Regions from separate parts of the Homo sapiens genome. Here region 1 is linked to region 2. The links are contacts of gene promoters, found by promoter capture Hi-C in human tissues and cell types (Jung and others, 2019). All regions are on one chromosome and are shown on one strand. Each heading gives the region's core, a stretch centred on a gene start or on the middle of the fragment in contact. The rest is flanking DNA. Distances are from core to core; before and after follow the strand shown.

Region 1 (3,276 bases), core at 774-3,273, 270 kb after region 2:
ATAGTCATGGCTTACTGCAATCTCAACCTCAAGCAATCCTCCCACCTCAGCTTTCTGAGAAGCTGGGACTGCAGGCATGTGCCACTATGCCTGCCTAATTTTTTTTTTAACTTTTTTTTTTTTTTTTTTTTTGGAGAGACAGGGTCTCACTATGTTGCTCAGGCTGGTCTAAAGCTCCCGGGCTCAAGTGATCCTCCTACCTCAGCCTCCTCAAGTGGGGGATTACAGGCATGAGACACCTGGCCTGAACCATTTCAAAGTTGCATTACTTACTGACATTGTGACACTACATCCTAAATTCTTCAGCATGCATTTCCTAAGGCCATTTTCCTACACAACTGTTTTTCATATCTAAGAAAATTAATAATTCCCTAATATGATCTAATATCCAGTCCATATTAAAATGACCCCAATTCTCATACCTAACTTTTAAACAGAGTTGCACAATTGTTCTTCACATTGTAATTCTCTGACTCCTGCCAGAGAAGCTAGACCATTGGAAAAGACATTCAACTGACTACAGAAAGATAAGTGCCCATATGTCCTTGGGAATAAACACTATGCATGATCTTGGGTAGGAGTGATGGAAGAAATGTAAAGGAGATAGTTTGGAAGAGAGAGTTTATGCTATTCTCACCTTCCAACAGGTGTACTTATAGCTCCACTAGAAGTGGCGATTAGGTCAAGAAGGAAGCACAACATTATTCTCTTCCTTTACCGAACCAATTTCAGACAGCCATGTTGGCTTCAGCCCTTTGGCCTGGCATTTGTCCTGGGAGTCGTCATCGTCACCCTCAACATCCACTCAAGAAAGCAAAACTCATCGGTGTAGTGTGGGAAATGAAAGAAAGAAAAAGAGAAAGAAAGCCAAAGTGCTGCAAAGAGCAACATGGCTGACTGCTCCATCCCCTATCCTGTCCCAGCTGGCCACCACACTGCGTCAGACCCCTGATTCCACTGGTGGCCAGATAGCCCCGCATATGGCATTTTGCTTTTGTTCTTATTTATTTATTTTTTTGAAATGGAGTCTAGCTCTGTTGCCCAGGCTGGAGTGCAATGACATGATCTTGGCTCACTGCAACCTTCACCTCCTGGGTACAAGCAATTCTCTGCCTCAGCCTCCCAAATAGCTAGGACTACAGGCATGTGCCACCATGCTCAGCTAATTTTTGTATTTTTAGTAGAGAGAGGGTTTCACCATTTTGGCCAGGCTGGTCTTGAACTCCTGACCTCGTGATCCACCTGCCTTGGCCTCCCAAAGTGCTGGGATTATAGGCATGAGCCACCGCGCCTGGCCTAAATTTAAATTTTAATAGGTACAAAGGTTCTATGTAAGGACCATCCTATTTTTTTTTATGGCTGCATAATATTTCATATCATGCATGTGTCAAAGTTTATTAATCCCTGGTAATGGGTATTCAGGTATTTTAAATTATATACTAGTCTAAGCAATACTTACTGAATAACTTTACACTTAGCACTTTGAACTTCAAATTAGAAAACTAGAGTGTCTTAGAAAAACAGAATAATCAAACAGAGGAAGCGTCTTTCGGAGCTTTGATCTTTACACAGTAATCTGAGGAGTCAAAATTCAAACCCAATCCTACAGGTTGTCAGATCTGGAAGAAACCATTGAGATCATCTTGTCCAACTCCCTTGTTGTAATGAGGAAAATAATGTCCAGAGAGGTTCAGAGCTTGCCCAAGATCACGTATCCAGGTAGTGACAAAGCCAGAGATAAACACCAGACCATCACTCCACATGGCTTCTCTCAGCCCTGTGCCTTTTGCCTCAGCATGTGTGTCTGAGAATGATGATCTTTGAGAGTGTCTGAGACACAGTGCACATGAGATAGGCAGGGAGGAAAAGGCCTAGGGTTGGAGGGCCAACGACACTGGTAATTCTTTTTTTTGTTTTTTGTTGTTGTTGTTGTTGTTGTTGTTGTTTTTTGAGGCAAAGTCTCGCTCTGTTGCCCAGGCTGGAGTGTAGTGGCACAATCTCGGCTCACTGCAACCTCCATCTCCTGGGTTCAAGCGATTCTCCTGCCTTAGCTGCCTGAGTAGCTGGGATTAGAGGTGCCCACCACCACTCCCAGCTAATATTTTGTATTTTTTAGTAGAGACGGGGTTTCACCATGTTGGCCAGGCTGGTCTCGAACTCCCGACCTCTGGTGATCCACCCAACTCGGTCTCCCAAAGTGCTGGGATTACAGGCGTAAGCCACTGTGCCCAGCCAACACTGGTCATCTTGAGAGGGTGGGTGGGAGGGGACCCCTGAGCTAAAGGAGCAATGGTCATACTGGATACAGATTTTTTTTTTTTTAATGAAGCAACTTCCTAAGGTGCCAGATGAGTTTTGAGAGAGAGGAAGTAGCCATTAGGGAAACGGAAACCAGAAATTTCTGAGTAGCCTGGGAAAGCTATTTGAAGGAGGCAGGACTTTAGGAGCCACAAAAGTGATGACATAAATGTTTAAACAAAGGTATCTCAAGCCAGAGGCTTCTCCTCTCCAAACTGTGGTTCTGCCTAGGCTCCTTCCCTAAGTCACCCTCTATGGAGAACTTGGGAAGAACTGGTCATTTTTCTTCTTCTTCCTTTTTTTTAAACATTAATTGGTTGGGCACGGTGGCTCACGCCTATAATCCCAGCATTTTGGGAGGCCGAGGCGGGCAGATCACATCACGAGGTCAGGTGATCGAGGCCATCCTGGTTAACATGGTGAAACCCTGTCTCTACTAAAAATACAAAAAAAAATTAGCTGGGTGTGGTGGTGTGTACCTGTAGACCCAGCTACTCAGGAGGCTGAGGCAGAAGAATCACTTGAACCCGGGAGGCAGAGGCTGCAGTGAGTTGAGGTTGCGCCACTCCGCTCCAGCCTAGGTGACAGAGCAAGACTCCGTCTCAAAAAAAAAAAAAAAATTAATTAATTTTGAGATAAGGGTCTCACTCTAGCACCCAGGCTGGAGTGCAGTGGCACAATCTTGGTTCACTGCAGCCTCACCCTCCTGGGCTTAAGCAATTCTCCCCTCCTCAGTCTCCTGAGTAGCTGGGTCTACAGGTACACACCACCATGCCTGGCTAATTTTTTGTTGTTGTTGTTAGAGATGGAGTCTCACTACATTGCCCAGGCTGGTCTCTAACTCCTGGGCTCAAGTGATCCTCCTGCCTCTGCCTCCCAAAGTGCTGGGATTACAGGTGTGAGCCAATGCCACATGCCCAACCTTGGTCATCTTTCTTCTGATCCCTGTAAAAAGAAGCAACAGGCTACACTCTGGAG
Region 2 (3,487 bases), core at 271-2,770:
GGTACTGCAGGCTGTCTACACTGGCATGGGGTCAGGGGTATTTAGGCTGGCATGGGGATTTTAGACTTCCTCTACTAGCATGAAGTTCAGGGATATCTAAACTTGCATGAGTAACATGGAGTTCAGGGGATTGCTAGACTGGCATGGGTTAAAGGGGGTGTCTACATGGCATGGGATCCAAGGCATGACCTCTCTGGCATGAGTACCAGGGGATGTCTGCCTTGTCTTGGGCCTATGTATCAGCATAAATATTCCTTGTTTACCTGTTTGAGGTATCTACATTAGCAATGGAGTCTCTTACTGACCCAAGGAGCTTGTCCTCATTGGTTTGTGGCAGGGGTACGTGTGTAGTGTTCTAGCAACCAGAACACTTACTTTTGTTCCCCTCTTCTGTTTCCATACCCTACCCCCTCCTGCTTGTTTTTGCCCTCTACCATCTCCTCACCCCTTTGCCAGGTGTCCTCTTTGCCCGCCGCCAGCCTGTGCCAGCTTCCCAGGGTCCAACCAACCCTGCACCCCCACCCTCCACAGGGCCCCCTTCCAGCATCTTGCCCTGAGAGGTCCTACTTGAAACTAAGAGTCCCAGCCCCATTGCTGAGGGGGGAGGAGACCCCCTGCTTTGATTCTTTCTGGCTGCCCACTCTGGGACCCAGCCCTGGGAGGGGACGACACCTCCCATGCCATGTGGACTTAAAACCAAAGTTTCTTTTGATGTTACACCTACCTCATTGTAAAGGGAGGGCACCTCCTCCCTGGCCAATTCCAGCAGCACCTACCAAAGGGTTCTTCCTCCAGTAACCCCATCATCTCCTCATGTGTTCCCTCTGTCAATGTCATCTCTAGGACCCTACCCTTTTGAGTCAGCCCTGCTTCTCTTCAGGAGCCAAGTGAAAGGTTGGGTTGGGGTACTGTGAAAGAGACATCCCTCAGGTCACATCTAGACAATAAAGCTGCGGTCCCTCCCTCTCTGATGCCTCCTTTCTTGTTTGGGTATGGGAGGTGGGGAGGAATGATGTGGAACATAGGCTGCCTTGGGCCAGGGGCTTTCAGAGGTTAAGGCAGAATAGCAAAGTTTCGTGAGAATAGAAGAGCTCCGTCTCTTGAATCAGACAGCCTGAGTTCAAGTCCTGTTTCTGTCCCTATAGTGCTGGGTGGCCTTGGGCAAGTTACTTAATCAACTGAACCTTAGAAGACTCCAAAAGTTTATGGTAACTCACGGAGCCTCCTAATGATGTATCTATGGGAATGGACCTATCCTGGAACACGTGCAAACTCAGGGAATGGCGTGGGGAAAGCTCTTTGGTACCCGAAAAGCAAAGGTTATCTTGACAACCAGGCACTGGAAGCCAGGGGAGGGATGGGACAGAGCCGTTGCCAAGGTAATCAGCTTTTGACAGCTCCGAGGAGTAACTTCCGGCACTGAAGGGCTGAATCATGGCGTCACTTCCTGCATAAAGGGCCGCTCGTGCACTCGGATTGGCTAGCCTTCTTATTTGGACTGACGTCCCGCCCTCTGGCTGTTTCCTGGCCGAGGTGGGTCGGTAGTAGCGATGGCGGGTCTGACTGACTTGCAGCGGCTACAGGCCCGAGTGGAAGAGCTGGAGCGCTGGGTGTACGGGCCGGGCGGGGCGCGCGGCTCACGGAAGGTGAGTAGTCTGGTCCGGTAGTCCCTTTCTGGAGCAGAGCAAGAGCGGTCCACTGTCCTGGCCCTCGGGATGCAACCGCTCCAGTCCTGTTCTCCGCAGCCCGGCCTTTGAAATAACAAAGGTCCGGGACCTCCCAGAGCTGATTGGACCATCGGGGTCCACTGTCATAGGGGGCTCTGCGGGTGGTTAAGCCAGCCTGAGAGTGGGCTCCGTACCTACTGTAGCTGAGACTCCGCCCTTGCCCTCGCGAGCTATAGTTGGGGAGACCTGACACGAGAAGCTGACTAATGAGAGTTTCAATAAGAGCTGAAGTCCACGATAGGAAGGCCCGTCATAGAGCCCTGCATAATTAATTGCTAAATGAATTGTGCAGGAAGAGGTCCATGGGACCCCTGGGGAGGCAGAGCAGAGGTGGATAAGGAAAACGCCAAAGGGTGAGAAGTGAGGTCTGAAAGGACCAGGATTAGGAAGGGAAGAGACTGGGTACTGGGTATTCAGATGTGGACTAGCACTGCTTTATACCAGTGACAGAATTTTGACAACTACGAAGCTCAGGTGCCCTCTCCTCCCCTTTCTACTATGGGAAGATCTTTTATTGAAGAACTTCTGATGGCGTGTCAGGCATGTCCTGGAGCTAAGTGCGTCCAAGGTAATGATGTCTGTTTGTACACTAAATGAGGAATTAGTTGTCACTAGCAGACTGTGCTCCCATTTCAGAACTAACTTCTCAAACATTCTCTTCCTTTGGGATCTATGACGCTGACCCTCCTGGTTTTCCTTCTACCTCTTACGGCTGCTTCTCAGTGTTATTTGCCTCCCCCCTGGCATTCCTCATCCTCTACCCTAAAAACTGGGTGAGTGCAGTCACTTCCTTAGTCTCCTCCTCTATTTGACCCTTTAATATTGGGATTCTTTACATTCTACCCCTAAACTTTAGGTAGGCTCACTCGCTTCCATGGTGTCAATTACTATTTACATGTCAATATGTCTCAAATGTATATCTCTGGTCCAGATTTCTGTTCTGAGAACCAGACTTTTATGTCTAGTTGTCTACTGGACTTTTCCACTTGGATATCCAATAGTCATTTCAAACTCAATCTGTATGCCCTTAACTGTACTCTTTCTCTCCCCTAACCTGATTCTCTTCTGTATTCCCTAATTCAGTGATTGCACCATCATTGGGATCCCAGTTGTTTGGACTCTTCCATCTCCCACACCAAATTTGATGTGGAGGGGATAGGGCTAGAGGTAGGCCAGCCAATCTAGAGGTCATGAAGGCTTGAATGAGGATGCTTGTGTTTCTCATGCCCAAACCCAGGACTTAGGAACCAGAAAATATATTGTGTATACTCTATATTCCATAGACTCTAAAATAGTTCGTTATCTTCCCCATCAGACTTGAAACTCCCCAAGGAGTACATGATTCTCTCTCTCCACTTTAAGGATTCCTGGAAGGTGGGGCTGCATCTCCTTTAATATTAGAGAAGGGAGGCCAACCTAGATTACTGGGATTCAGGTTTGAGAGTCTGGGAGAATGAGGGTTCTTTAACTTTTCCAAGCCTTGAGCCAGGTAGTATATCTTGGAATTAACCACCACTTCCCTTACAGGTGGCTGACGGCCTGGTCAAGGTGCAGGTGGCTTTGGGGAACATTTCCAGCAAGAGGGAGAGGGTGAAGATTCTCTACAAAAAGAGTAAGTGCTTCCATGATGTGCCTGCCTGCCCGACATCCCACCCCTCAGCTTCCTGGTACCTGGCCCTAGCCCTTCAGTTCATTAGGTCACTGGAATAGCCCTTTGGGGATAGAAAGATTATGAGGACATTTACCTACACCCAATTCAA

The links. The method cuts DNA at HindIII sites, captures the fragments that hold promoters and counts their contacts. A contact is called where the count stands out against the background at its distance.
Region 1: a contact is called between a fragment that was not itself captured here and the fragment with the promoter of DCTN3 in region 2, in 1 of the 25 tissues and cell types used here (lymphoblastoid cells).

What each region holds. Positions count from the first base shown.
Region 1 is chr9:34,347,878-34,351,153 of GRCh38, reverse strand. No RefSeq gene overlaps it. Among named protein-coding and RNA genes, the nearest start is that of NUDT2, 20 kb to the right of the region's middle. The HindIII fragment of the contact is 9,311 bases long and covers 1-3,276 here.
Region 2 is chr9:34,618,528-34,622,014 of GRCh38, reverse strand. It overlaps DCTN3 (dynactin subunit 3), which reads left to right and starts at 1,520. Exons shown (of 7, transcript NM_007234.5): 1 at 1,520-1,646; 2 at 3,255-3,339. The coding sequence starts at 1,551. It overlaps ARID3C (AT-rich interaction domain 3C), which reads left to right. Exons shown (of 8, transcript NM_001017363.4): 8 at 457-966. The coding sequence ends at 557. The HindIII fragment of the contact is 3,867 bases long and covers 1,451-3,487 here.